Linked DNA regions of Homo sapiens: regions 2 and 3 are each linked to region 1. Evidence: promoter capture Hi-C in human tissues and cell types (Jung and others, 2019). All regions are on one chromosome and are shown on one strand. The core of a region is centred on a gene start or on the middle of the fragment in contact, and the rest is flanking DNA. Distances in the headings are between cores, read along the strand shown. Region 1 holds the start of PPP4R2 (protein phosphatase 4 regulatory subunit 2). Region 2 holds the start of LOC105377157 (a long non-coding RNA gene). Region 3 has its middle 150 kb from the start of PROK2.

The links. The method cuts DNA at HindIII sites, captures the fragments that hold promoters and counts their contacts. A contact is called where the count stands out against the background at its distance.
Region 2: a contact is called between a fragment that was not itself captured here and the fragment with the promoter of PPP4R2 in region 1, in 1 of the 25 tissues and cell types used here (lymphoblastoid cells).
Region 3: a contact is called between a fragment that was not itself captured here and the fragment with the promoter of PPP4R2 in region 1, in 1 of the 25 tissues and cell types used here (lymphoblastoid cells).

Annotation. Positions count from the first base shown.
Region 1 is chr3:72,995,302-73,000,079 of GRCh38, reverse strand. PPP4R2 (protein phosphatase 4 regulatory subunit 2) reads right to left here and starts at 3,269. Exons shown (of 9, transcript NM_174907.4): 1 at 3,009-3,269; 2 at 1,922-2,003. The coding sequence starts at 3,042. LOC124909395 (a long non-coding RNA gene) reads left to right here and starts at 2,889. Exons shown (of 2, transcript XR_007095961.1): 1 at 2,889-2,973. RefSeq lists enhancers at 2,285-2,334, 3,595-3,644 and a silencer at 2,785-3,414. The HindIII fragment of the contact is 8,748 bases long and covers 1-4,778 here.
Region 2 is chr3:71,990,499-71,994,987 of GRCh38, reverse strand. It overlaps LOC105377157 (a long non-coding RNA gene), which reads right to left and starts at 1,289. Exons shown (of 2, transcript XR_940957.3): 1 at 1,204-1,289; 2 at 1-579. The HindIII fragment of the contact is 8,690 bases long and covers 1-4,489 here.
Region 3 is chr3:71,937,505-71,942,300 of GRCh38, reverse strand. No RefSeq gene overlaps it. Among named protein-coding and RNA genes, the nearest start is that of PROK2, 150 kb to the right of the region's middle. RefSeq lists a silencer at 3,997-4,046. The HindIII fragment of the contact is 3,696 bases long and covers 298-3,993 here.

The sequences.
Region 1 (4,778 bases), core at 2,020-4,519:
CCCATCCTAAAACATCAGAAAAGTCTAAATTGCTGTTCTTTAAATTTTCATTTTCATTCTCTCGTTACAATCTCACATACTAGACAAAGCTTAGTTTAGCCATAAATAGGTAGCAGAAACTCTGCAAATGTCAGTATCAAAGATATGCCATGTTGATAAAAAGAAATCAAAGCTTAAAGCTAAATGCATAAACACTGGCTGCTATTTACATAATAAAATAAAAAATATTTTCCAAATTCCATTGAATATAAGAATCTAACTACACCAATCATTTCAGTACAAAACATGCTTAGTGAATACATAAACACCGAATATGGGGTGGAGGATTGGGAATTTTAAGTCCTCTTCTACCAGGATAAAATAACTGTCCAAAAAAAATCAGATAACTTCCCCAGCCACTTGGTGTTCCAGTAAGACAGGATATTAAAAAGCTATCTTTTAGAAACTTTCAATTATTTATACATTTATAGGCAATGTACTTTATCAAAAAGGGAAAGCAGTGTGTACAAACCTGATAAACTGAGTAAGACGTTTTAAGTACTCATCTCCAAATAGTTTGATATCATCTTGTATATCAAAAAACAGCCAAAAGTAAAATGCTATTTGGCTTGACATTGTTGACAGGGCTAAGTCTGTGCCGACTAGCAATTCAAGAGGAATAGTGGCAGTCTAAGCATTTATGTTTTAGGGATTAATTTATTTTTGAAAGATGGCATGTGGTCATTTTTAGGCTTATCTATATAAGCACAAATTAACAGTTTTACATTGTTCTAAATCAAGATGTTCTATATGAAACCCTAATGCGAAGGTAAAAATGACTTCCCCCGCCCAGAGGGTCCCATTTTTTAATGTAATAAATAGAAATACAACATTGAACACATCACACTGACGTTCTCAAAATGACTGGTGTATTTTAATAGAATACTAAGGAGACTCAGCTTGCAGGCATGACCATTAAATCAAGCACTGAGGCAGCAAAGGTTTTTTTCTTTCTAAAATTAGGCTAGTTGTTAAAAGGCTAGACTACAAATAAGCAAATCTTGTGAGAAATGAACACTTGCTAATAATAAAGCCAGAGAAATTATACAATTCTTGCTGAAAGCTACACTCATACTGGGCAGATAACCCACTTATTAACATTGAAACCATAGAAACCTACCCCTTTCCTGCTGCCCCAGCCCCCACCCAAAGACTACAAAAAGAAGTCATCAAAGATGCACTGTTGTCTACAAATAAACTTAGCCAGATTGTGTCTACCACACAAACTGCAAAACAATGACCTGGAATGTTCCTTCTGAACACAGCCCTAACTTTATAGCGTAAGTTTCAGATTCAGAACATTTGGAAACGAGCTGAATAAAATGCTGAGCATATGTAACAAGTCAGCTATCTTAGAAAGTCTACAAGTCAAAACTGTAGCATCTGGAATTTGTCAGATAATAACAGAGTCCTCCAGACGATAAATAGAAGTGACACTTTAAACACCTACATATGCAAATATGACCAAAAAAAGGCTGGACACACGACAATATGAGAAAATACCACCAAGACTCTGAAACAGAATCAAAGCCACAAAATTCTAGGAATAAGCCTATTTGTTATGGCCAAAAAGGGTCATAATGGAATAGGCATTCTTCCTTTCTCTGGCTCGTTAAGACTAATACATTCTCTAAGCGTGCCAAAGCCTAGCTATAAAGAAAATTTTAACATACACAGGTTTTTAAAATCCGTTACAGACCATGTATAAAGTAAGTAAGCGTATACGTTCTTTAAATGTAAATATATAAATTATTTAAATGACCAGGACTTCTACAATTTAGAATGAATTATTTAATTATCCCAAAATATACTTTTTTCCCTTTCCTGAGCAATTCTTAATAATGCACTGGTCTATAACGACAAATGCATGTTTTCAACTCACATTGTTTCTCCAGTCTTGGCTACATGACAAAGAAACTGATCCAGGACAGGACAAACTTCCTTTTTCCCCCTCTTCTCAAAATCTAGATGAAGGAAGAAAAAAAAACGTTATCAGTTTTCTCAAAAGCGCTCTAAAAACAAACTTTCCTCCTAGTCCTTTACCTTATTAAAAATCAATTAAATACAAAATTAAAAAAATAAGGCCTCTCAACCAAATTACCACCTCAATCCTCCAAGTTCTACTTCCAACATGTCACCCTCTTTACAGATAACAAGAATCCTCCTAAAGGGGGCACTCAACTTCACAAACCATTTTTAACGCAGTGCTTCTCGAAGTGTGGTCCGGGGGAACACCAGCATTATATTAAGCTGGGAATCCAGTGAAAATAAAAATCCCCAGGCCCCGACTCCCACCAATTGTTCATCTAAGTCCATAAATCTGCCTTTCTAAGAAGCACCAACTACCCCAAGTTGCCGTCCCCAAATGATTCTGAATGTCAAAGAATAATTCTCAAAACGCTGAAATCTCTCTACTCGAAGTTTGTAAGCCACTGTTCTCAAGCCTGTTGCGTGGAAGGCGTGCAATCAAGAACAGTGAAGGCAACCACCTCGAAATTAGGGCGCGGAAAGATGACTTCAAAAGCCCTGAAAAAGGCATACTGAGACAACTTAAAAGTTGCGATGCTACCCCCTACCCCCGCCCCCACCAACCGTTTACTTTTTCTCCCACCCCAACGCCTAGCGTACGGGTAGCCTGGTGGAGAAAAGAGGATATCTGGGAGGGAGGGGTCTGCGGGTCCGCCACTCGTCCCCTGAACGGGTGGGAGAAAGACTGGGGCCCCCGCAAGAGTTTCCCCGGCTCCCCTCCCCCAGCCCAGACGCCGGCGGCCGACACAAAGCCAGAGCGGGGCGGGAGAGAGCTGCCCACAGGGCTCCCCGCCCCTGGGGAGGTGGAGGGGGATGGGAGCCCGGGAAGCACTCTCCCCACGCCGCGCCCGGCCCCGGTCCTCGGAACCATCCGCCCTGAAAGGAGAGAAGAGCGAGCCGGAGAAGGTGAGGGGGAATGGAGAGGGGGCAGCTACCCCCACCTTTCAGCGCCTCCTGGAGCCTCTCGACGTCCATGGCTTCCCGGAGTCCCTCACAGCCTCCGCCTCCCTCCGCGGGTCTCTTGGGGACCGGAACGCCTCCCCCCACCCCCCCGACGCCCTCCCCCTCCCTCGCACACACTCCGGCACGCAGGCGACCGGGGGGGGGAAACGAAGGGAGCCGGGGGAAGCGTGCGAGAGAGCAAGACCGACAGAGCGAGCACCTCCCCAAGCCGCTACCACCAACCCTCCAACATGGCGCCCGGTACGTCACCGCGCGCACGCTCCCTGCCGCCGTCCTCGCTCCCGCCGCGCGCTCCGGCCCGGAACCCGAGAGCGCGTGCGCGGCCGAGGTGTGACGCTGGGGCCCAGTGGCGTCTGCGTCCCGGCGGCTTCCAGAGCCTCAGCCCCAGCCCCAGCCCCAGGCCCAGGCTCCGCGGAGCTGAAGACTGGACGGTCAGGCGAGAGGGTTGCAGGCGGACTCCTAGGCTTTGAATCCCTGCCATTTCCTCTCTGTGTGAACTTAAGCTACTTACTTCGCCTGTCTGAGCCTCATTTTCCCCATCTGTACAGTAAGGGCACTGGTACTGATGCCCTATGCAGTTGCTGTGAGAATTCAGTGTATACACTTCACGTTCAGAATGCGCCTAAAAAACGTAGAGCGAGGCCGGGCAGGGGGCTCAGGCCGGTGATCCCAACACTTTGGGAGGGAGGCCGAGGCGAGAGGATCGCTTGAGCCCAGGAGTTCGAGACCAGTCTGGGTAACAAAATGACCCCGCTCCCTCGCCCTTCTCTATATAAAAATAAATACAGGCCGGGCGCGGTGACTCAAGCCTGTAATCCCAGCACTTTGGGAGGCTGGGGCGGGCGGAGCACCTGAAGTCAGGAGTTGAAGACCAACCTGGCCAACATGGCGAAACCCCGTCTCTACTAAAAATACAAAATGTAGTCGGGCGTGGTCGCTCGTGCCTGTAATCCCAGTTACTCGGGAGGCTGAGGCACGAGAATCGCTTGAATCCAGGAGGCGGAGGTTGCAGTGAGCCGATATCGCGCCACTGCCTCCAGCCTAGGCGACAAAGCGAGACTGTTTCAAAAAAATAATAATAAAATTAACAATACATACATACACTAAGCATTGCTAATAATCCTAACAAGAATACCTCCCTGCTTAACCCAACGTTCGTTCGTCACTGGCCCACCTGTGGCAAGAAGTAATGTATACAGCAAAGTCATTAAGAGCTCAAGGTTTGGAATCAATATTCAAATCCCAACTCAACTACTTACTCCTTGTGTGGCCCTGAAGTAGTTACCTAAACTCAGGCAGCTTCAGGGTTCTTATTTATAAAATGAGGGTTGTAAAACGGCCACGAGGATTGAGTGAAATGGCAAATGTGAAACATTTGGCACAGTGCGTGAAACCTGGAACACTCAACGTGGCTGGGTTTTTATTACCACTGTTAGCATTATTACATGACATAATCTCCCAGGAGGTAGGAGAGGGCGGAAACCTCAGAAGTCCTCTGCAGCCCTGACATTTTACAAATGGGAAAGCTGTGTCACAGACAGCAAGTCTGGGGAGACAGAACTAGAACCCAGAACCCAAATCATCTGGCTCCCAGCCAGTGCGTGGACATTTTTATACTCATCTGTGAGCTTTTAAAAGAAAAGGTACTGCCCGGGCACGGTGGCTCACACCTGTATTCCCAACACTTCGGGAGTCTGAGGCAGGCGGATCACCTGAGGTCAGGAGTTTGATACCAGCCAGGCCAACAT
Region 2 (4,489 bases), core at 1,764-4,263, 1.0 Mb after region 1:
AATAATTCTGACAGTTTTGTGTTTCAAAAGTCATAGATGTTTTGAAATTTAGAGTCATATATAACAAAAGAGAGACGTTATCTTGTTCCTTGTACCTTTTGCCACCTATAAAGTTTCTACAAGTTGGGGAGGAAGTGTAAGGACCAGAAAGGAAGGAAAGAAGGCTTAGATGCTGGTCATTCCAGACACTGCTACAGAACTGAGCCCGTTGCGGAGTGGCAAAACCCTCATGTTGATTGGGGAATCCGAAAACCGGGGCTTGTACTCTCATTCTGGGGAGAATCCAGGGAAGTTGCGAGAGCCCAAAACTTAGCATAGACCTGAGTAATTCAGGGAAGAGGCACAGCCGTAGCACAGAGAGCTGGCATCCTGAAAGGCACGGTGGCTAGACGTGAGGAAGGACATACAGCTGCTGGCAGGACGAGGAGAAAATGAGGCATGTCAGCAGATCCAGGGCGGAGTGGGAGAGAGAACCACACTGCAATCTGCACACGCCATCCTCAGCGCCAACTTCCATCCCAGGGTAACTCATCACCCAAGACAGTTACTGGAGCTCCAACTGTCACACCAAGCTCCAGGCTGCAATAAGGAAAAAGAGGGGGAGGGCAAAACGGCCTGTTGGTTAGACGAGTCAGTATCCTTTACAGGGCCTTCCTGGAAGCCCCACACACAACTTCCACTTTTTATCTCATTGACTAGAATAAGAGTCACACCCAGCTACAAGGGAAATAGGGTCATGTGGTCTTTTGGCTGAGCACTGAATTAAAAATTGGGGTCGTTACTAAGTAGGAAGGGGAAAATGGATATGGGGTGGCACCTAACGGTCTCTTTCTCTTTTCTCATTTATTTATTTATTTAGAGACACGGTCTTACTCTGTCACCAAGGCTGGAATGCAGTGGTGAGATCTTGGCTCACTGCAGCCTCAGCCTCTCAGGCTCAAGGGATCCTCCCACCTCAGCCTCCCAAGTAGCTGGGACCACAGGCATGCGCCACCACACCTGGCTAATTTTTTTGTATTTTGGGTAAAGATGGGGTTTCACCATGTTGCCCAGGCTGATCTCGAACTCCTGGGCTCAAGTGATCTTCCTGCCTCAGCCTCCCAAAGTGCTGGGATTACAGGGGTGAGCCACTTCTTCCGACCTGGCAGTCTCTTTCAAGTCGTGCCTTTTCTGTCTCCTCCTTCCCACTTTTCTGGGCCTCACCTCTTCTTCTCTAGCTCTGAGTTCCAACCTCACTTTACAGCACCCTGAAGGAGCTACCAGCCTCATTTCTGTCACCTCTGCACAAAGGGGCACTGTTTGCATCCCATTGGTGGGAGTTGGTAGAACATGCTGGTGCTGTCATGGTTGCCTTGCCCACATGTTTTCAGTTTCATGTGGTTGCAATGGATATGCTTCCTTCCTGACGCCAATTCAAGTTTCAGCCCATGTCCTGTTGCCCATTGTGCGTGGTGGTCTGTGTGTGGACACAGGCCAAATAAGTCATTCTGTAGCCTCCAGTAAGGTGACCAGGTGGCCCAGGGGGCCCGAGCTGACTTTGGTACCAAAAGCCTGTAGGGCAGGTATCTTGGAAAATGCTGTGGAGTCTCCCTTTTCCTAAGGGAAAGAGATGAAAGAAGAAGGAACTGACATTTAAGTGACTGTCACGTACTAAGTCTTGTGCTAATGATTCTCAGATGTGATCTTGTGTGATTTTGGTGCAGGAACATCAAAACTATGAGGCAGGTAGGTACTTCTCCTAGTATGAGTTCTACCCAAAGCAGACCCTGAGACAAGGACTTGGGTACACATAGTTTATTTGGGCCAGAAAGGACAAGTAAGGAAATGGTATGTTGGTAAATGTCTAACATCTGGCTGTCCAACAACAATAACAACAGGCCGGGCAAGGTGGCTTATGCCTGTAATCCCAGCGCTTTGGGAGGCAGAGGCAGGTGGATCATCTGAGGTCAGGAGTTTGAGACCAGCCTGGCCAACATGGTAGTCTCTACTAAAAATACAAAATTTAGCTGGGCGTGGTGGCAGGTGCCTGTAATTCCAGCTACTGGGGAGGTTGAGGCAAGAGAATTGCTTAAATCCAGGAGGCAGAGGTTGCAATGAGCCAAGGTCGTGCCACTGCTCTCCAGCCTGGGCAACAGAGGGAGACTCTGTCTCAAAAAAAAAAAAAAAAAAATCAATAACAACAACAACAACCTGATTTATAGCATCTAGGGATTTCCCTGGTATAAATATGACACCATAGTCAATTTTAGGTCACCATCATGACATCACTGAACACAGAGGGAAGAGATGCACACATTGATTCTCAAAAACCTATGTAAGCTGGTACCAGCACATCAAAAGGAAGAGCTAGCCAAGATAAAGCCAATGAAGCGTGCCTTAATAAGCAGGTCACTAACGTGGACACATGGAACTCACTCTCATGGGTGCACTCTGTGAAACAGCATGGAGCACACCTCAGAATCCACTCACAGGGACACTGGCACACTTACCCATCTGACTCTATTCCCTACTGATTGAAGTTAACTTTCCCCCCAGCTCCAATTAGGTCTCCAGATCTTTGAGAAAGCTCACCTAGTGCCAAAAATAAAGCCTTCCAGCAGAGAAGAGAGAGGCACAGGTATTTGAGATGGGAATTATTAGCATGCTGGAAAATGCCTTTGCCTGCAGCCGCAGGTGAATTCAGGCGGCCCAAGGGTATAGGGGATAAAGCAGCAGTAGAACTGGAATCTGCAACAGGAGGCAACACACTTTTTCTGTAAAGGACCAGACAGTAAATATTTCAGGCTTTGCATGCCACATATGGTCACTGTCACATATTTTTCAAATTTTTTATTTGCTTGTGGTTTACAAGATTTTAAACATATAAAAAACATAAAAAAACCTTCTTAGCTTGTGGGGCTGAACAAAATGAGTCTGAGGGCCACAGATTGCCAAGGCCTGTCCTACAGACCAGCAATAGCAGCACCCAGGAGCTTGCAAAAATGCAGATTCCCAGGCACCACCCCCGGTACTGAATACAATCTGCATTTTAGCAAGGTGTACACAGTAATGTTTGAGGAACACTATGCTGCTGTACTATCATTTCCATCATACAGATAAGGACACTCAGTCCTTAGAGAGGCTGAGTCACCTGATAGAAGCCGCAAAGAGCCAGGACTCAAATCCAGGCCTGACTGATCCCAAGGCCATTCTCTTCACAGGTCTGGTTATAATTGTAAATAATCTATAAAAAATTTCAATTCCCATATGATATGGTTTGGATGTTTGTCCCTTGCAAATCTCATGTTGAAATGTGATCCCCAAAATTGGAGGTGAGGCCTAGTGGGAGGTGTTTGGCTCTTAGGGGTGGAGCCCTCAAGAGTGGCTTGGTGCCAACCCCATGGTAACGAGTTCATGCACGATCTGCTTGCATGAACCAGAGTCTGGGACCTCCCTCCCCTCTCTCTTCCTCCCTCTCCCACCATGTGACACACCTGCTCCCCCTTCTCCTTCCACCATGAGTGGAAGCTTCCTGAGGCCTCACCAGAAGCAGATGCTGGTGCCACACTTCTTGTACCGCCTGCAGAACCATGAGCCAAAATAAACCTCTTTTCTTTATAAATTACCCAGCCTCAGGTACTCTTTTATAGCTATGCTAAATGGGCTAATATACCATATTTAAAGTAAGATGGCTACTTTAAAATAATATCTAAGCAATTTTGTAGTGACATCATTGGAGGAGCCCTGTACATGGGGAAATGAGTCATTTTAGCAATCCATTTACAGAAAGACAGGCGATGTGGAGCTCCAGAAAGGAGTTCCTGTGTCTGTGATGACCATCTTCCTTACACATGATCTTAGGTATCTTAGAAGCAGACCGAGTCCCTCAGTAGATTGGAACCTCCTTGAGAGCAGGAACAGGGTATTCTCTTCCCCTGATGACCTCTCAAAGGATTAGTAAATTGATTCTCTAAAGGAATGCAAACAGGAAGTGCACAGAATCCCACCACTGGTTAGACCCTAATTATACTCTTTTTTGTGTGTTGTGGGTTAGAGGTTAGCTTAAGAGATTCAACCTTGCAACTAATTCTTCCCAATGCACCAGGCTGACTGGGACTCCTACCCTGCTGTGTAGGACAGTGTCATGGTGTGGAAGTGAGGGCTTAAGTCAAGCCCAAACATGACTTCCAGACAGTCAGATCTGCTTTTTCTTTCTAGGGATTCTATTATATGCATGTTGGGTCTCATGGACATCATTTTTTTTTCTTCTTTGATTCTCACCTCTTTAATCTTTTCCACAGAGCTCTTGAAGAAGCTCTTAAGCCTATCTCTCTCTTCTGTGATCTTGGTTTTCTTCAGTGACTCAGGAAAGGCACTGCTTCTATTGTGTTTTTAATATGACACCTATAATTTTCATCTGCAGTCTTTATAGACTGGATTATGGATCTTGGATTATGTTTATTCTTCATGACAACCTGCTGTCATTTAATAGATATGATGGGTCTTTAAG
Region 3 (4,796 bases), core at 896-3,395, 1.1 Mb after region 1:
AGTTGAAGGCCAGTCACAGTGGCCCATGCCTGTAATCCCAGCACTTTGGGAGGCTGAGGTGGGTGGATCACTTGAGGTCAGGAGTTTGAGACCAGCCTGGCCAACATGGTGAAACCCCATCTCTACTAAAACTCCAAAAATTAGCTGGGGGTGGTAGCGCACGCCTCTAATCCCAGCTACTCGGGAGGCTGAGATGGAAGAATCACTTGAAGCCAAGAGGCAGAGGTTGTGGTGAGCTGAGATTGCGCCACTACACTCCATCCTGGGAAAGAAAGGAAGAAAAAAAAAAGAAGGAGGGAGGGAGGAAGGAAGGAGGAAAAGGTATGAAAAGGAAGGAAAAGGAAAGAACAGAGCTGGGATTTGAACCAGACACTGACTCCCAAGCCAGCTCTCTGAACCATGATGCCACTGAGTCTCACACAAGTCAAACCCCTGAGCATCCATGATTCTCATTTTCAAATGCAAATATACCCCACACTAATCAGACTTAGGAATGATCTGCTGTTTGGGATTGGCCACATTTCTGATCTCTCTATTCATGGAAATCATTGAGAATTCACTAAGTAAATATGAGGCAGAGGAATATTATTCAATGTTGGTTTGCATTTTCCTCCCTGCTATCAGATAGCCAGGCTCATACTTGAACTCTGGCTTGATATTTTCTGGACCAAAGAGATAGAGTTAGCCTCAAGAAAAGAGTTGGCTGCTCTGGGCTTCAGCCAGGGACTCCTGTCATGGAGGGTCGTGAGCAGGAGCAGACCAAAGCCCTGGAGAGCAGCAGGAGCCGTTGCCACATCAGTCAGCTGGAACACAACTACCCAGGCTTATTTTTCTCCTTCTCATTTGCTCTCTTGAAAGCATCAGTGCCTTCAACAGCCTCAGCGGAGTCGACTAGGAAGCCAGAAGCTCTGGGAAAATCCACCTGGCTCTGGAGAAAGCCCCAAGCTTTTCCTCCCCATCTCCCCAGAGCCCGTTTTTGTTGTTTTTTGGGACAGGGTCTCACTCTGTTACCCAGGCTGGAGTGCAGTGGCATGATCACAGCTCACTGTAGCCTTCACCTCCCAAGCTTAAGCAATCCTCCTGCCTCAGCCTCCTGAGTAACTGGAACTACAGGTGTACACCACCATAACCAGCTAATTGTTTTATTTTTTGTTTGTAAAGAGATAGAGACAGCAAGAATCTTGCCCAGTCTGGTCTCAAACTCTGGGCTCAAGCGATCCTCCTGCCTTGACCTCCCAAAGTGCTGAGATTACAGGCATGAGCCATCACACCCAGCCAAGAAACCAATTTTAGTCTTTTCCAAAAATATATGACTACACATCACTCCCACTTTTTAAAACAGAACACCTGTTAACATCTGGTAGCGTACTCATGTTTCATCAAACAGTTTGGCAATCATCATCCTAAATTTTCTAATTACTGCCTACAACAGGATTTTGCTGATACCCATCCACGCTGGGCATCCTGTTTGTGAGACAATAAAATAGGGAAGGCACCAGTCCTCCAAGTGTCTGCCAACCTTTCCAGATTGCTGGGAAGACTAAGTGAGTGATGAGTGCTGAGTGAAGTATGAAGCTTCACAGATGTCTGTTATTGTTACTGCTTGTCAACTCTCAACAGTGGTTTTGTTTTTAAGGATTGCTAATAAGGGAGCTTCTAATAACTGTGCTTGTGGGAGTGTCAGGAAGTAGACTCTGGGATACAGGGTGTGCCCCACATGCTCTTGAGGTTTATACCCAAGGAAAGGAGGAGAAGGAAGCTGGACTGGGCAGAGGGAGAAGCTGGTTTGCAATGCACCCTGTTGATGGCTAAATGCCCCCAAGGGGCACTCTGGAGCTGGGCTGGCCATTCAGCGTCAACCCTAGTTGGGATGAAGGGAATGGGCCTTTACCTCCGCACCTTGATCAGTCATTGGATACAACACCCACCTGCTGGACTCATCAGAGCCAGTCCCTGCATCGGGCTACCAGCAGTCAGGGTGTAAGTCCCTCATTCCTGAAGGGGGACTAGGTGACGCACCACAGTGTCCACAAAATAACATTCTATAAGTTTCAAGGAGATAAACATTCCATTTCTTCACCTCTTTTAGAATATCAAGTGGCAATCCAATCTAACTCTTTACTGGGGAGTTGATTCACGTCTTGCTTTCTGGAACTGACTTTTCAATACCAAACAGGTACATGTGCCAAGAGATGCCAAATCAAAGCCTTCCTTTGATATGTGGCCATTAGGGAATGCCAGATTGTCCCTTCCAATGGAACCACTTTCTCCTTTCAATTAGCTAAAGGGCCTCTCAGTAGTTTTCTTCCCCAACATACATAGACCTTGCCTTCTAAAATGGACTTCTGTACCCTTCTTCTTTGTAAGGAGTTGTGCTGGGCATTCTCCCACTTTTTCCACCCCATTCCGTGTCTCAGGTGGGACTGATCTCCAAGGCTGCATCAGTGAGCTCCCTTACTTTCCAGCTTCTATTCTGATTCAGCCAATGGGAGGCACCAATAGGAGAATGTTGAGGGGAACAGAAAGAGATTGGGTTATTTCTTCCTCCTGACTTCCTCAGTCCCTAGCCAAGGGCAGAGGCCATGCTCCTTTTTCCAAGGCCACAGTTCCTCTCAGCTCCACTGTTGGAGTCATGGCTCTTGTTAGTTCCAGAAACTGTTCCTTCCCTTTAGCCCTTCAGGACTGGATCTGTGGAAAGGGAAGCAGCTCCTCTCTGTATTAGCTGGGCTGTGCTTCCTTGTTCCTCCTCAGTTTTCCTTATACCTCCATTTGTAAGATGAATCTTTATGAACACCTCCTTAATCACCCCTTTGTGCTTTTTCTGCCAGGACCCTGACTCACACACAACCCCATCCTATTGTCCAGAAATGAAATAGTTTCACCCAGGATTTCCCAAGATTCCTGAAAGGCCAGGAACCAGACAGAATATGTATGTCTTTGTCTTTGGAGGTCTACATTGAGGTCCCTGAAGCTCAGCATTGCAGACTCTTCTCTGCTTTCTCTCTATTTTATCTTTGATCTTTAGAACAACGTTTCTCAACCATTTTAAAAGGCACACTGCCCATTCAGGATCACTCAAAGACCTGCTTTATCTGGCTCTTCTCTTTGTCCCTCCCATTATATCATTCTTCAATAAACGTCTGTGGCCAGGTGCAGTGGCTCACACCGCGAATCCCAGCACTTTGGGAGGCCAAGGTGGGAGGATTGCTTGAGTCCAGGAGTTCAAGACCAGCGTGGGGAACATGACAAGACCCTATCTCTACAAAAAAATTAAATAAATAAAATTATCCAGGTGTAGCAGCACGTGTCTGTGGTCCCAGCTACTCAAGAGGTTGAGGTGGGAGGATTGCTTGAGCCCTGGAATTTGAGGCTGCAGTGAGCTGTTGATCATGCCACTCTACTGCATCCTAAGCAACAGAGCAATACTCCATCTCAAAAATAAAAAATGTCTATAGGAAGAATTAATGAATGTCTAAGCCTCAGTTTCCTCGCTTGCAAAAATGAGGGGAATAACCCTCCTAAAAAGCTTTTAAGTTAGGTGTCATTATTAGTACAATTTTACAAAGGTAGAAATTGAAGATCAGAGAAGATAAGGATTTGCTCAAGGTCACACAGCTAGGAAAGAGCAAGATCAGAAATGGAACCAAGGGCTTCTGACTGAGTCTGGGGCTCTTGATATGGTACCACAGCCTGCTACATTTCCAGATTAATAAAAAGAAACCAGTGCACCCTCAACCACTTTAAAAGGCACACTGCCCATCCAGAATCACTCGAAGGCCCACATTATGTGGCTCTTCTCCATCTTCTCCTGAACAGTCAGGAATTGAGATTTCTGAGGGCAGATAGATTATAGATGATTGATAGATAGATATGCAGCTATATATATTATATGGTTTAACTGTGTTCCCACCCAAATCTCATCTCGAATTGTAGTTCCTGTAATCCCCACGTGTCATGGGAGGGACCAGGTGGAGGTCATTGAATCATGGGGGTGGTTTCCCCTGTTCTCATGACAGTGAGTTAGCTCTCATGAGAGCTGATGGTTTTATAAGGGGCTTCCCCCTTTGCTAGGCACTCATTCTCTCTCCTGCTACCCTGTGAAGAGGTGCCTTCCACCGTGATTGTAAGTTTCCTGAGGCCTCCCCAGCCATGTGGAACTGTGAGTTAATTAAAACTCTTTTTTAACAAAATAAGTTATGCAGTCTCTGGTGTTTCTCCATGGCAGCGAGAGAATGGGTTGATACAATATATGTTTTTTCTTTTTAATTATCCTCTAAACACACACACACACACACACACACACACACACACAGAAGAAGGCTGCCCTTAAGTTCCTCTAGGGGTGTGGGGTGAAAACATCCCCCTTCTTGTTGTCATCATGGCTCTGGAGGTCTGCTATCATGCAGCCCCTTTGTCCGTCTTTGCAATAGTTCCAGGGTCCTTACCTTACTTCCCTGAAGCTTTCATTAAAAGGGTGAGTCACATGGCTATTGAAAGGTGCAGAACATAGGTGGATTGTAATTTGAGCTACATAATTGCAAATGAACATGTTTTTAAACTCAGAACTTCAGTTTTCTCACTGTAAAATAGGAAAAGATATTTACTTCACAGGTGACAGTGAGAGTCAACTGAAAAAAAAATACCCAGTACTACGCCTGTTGTAGAGTAACTGTTCAGTAAATATTAAATCCCATCCTACCCACCTCCAGGGTTTCCCAACCACTTCCCGGGCCTCAGAAGAGTCTCACTGTGTTGGGTAGGGGGTCCGTGGACGGCAGGGACCTGTGGATGTACAA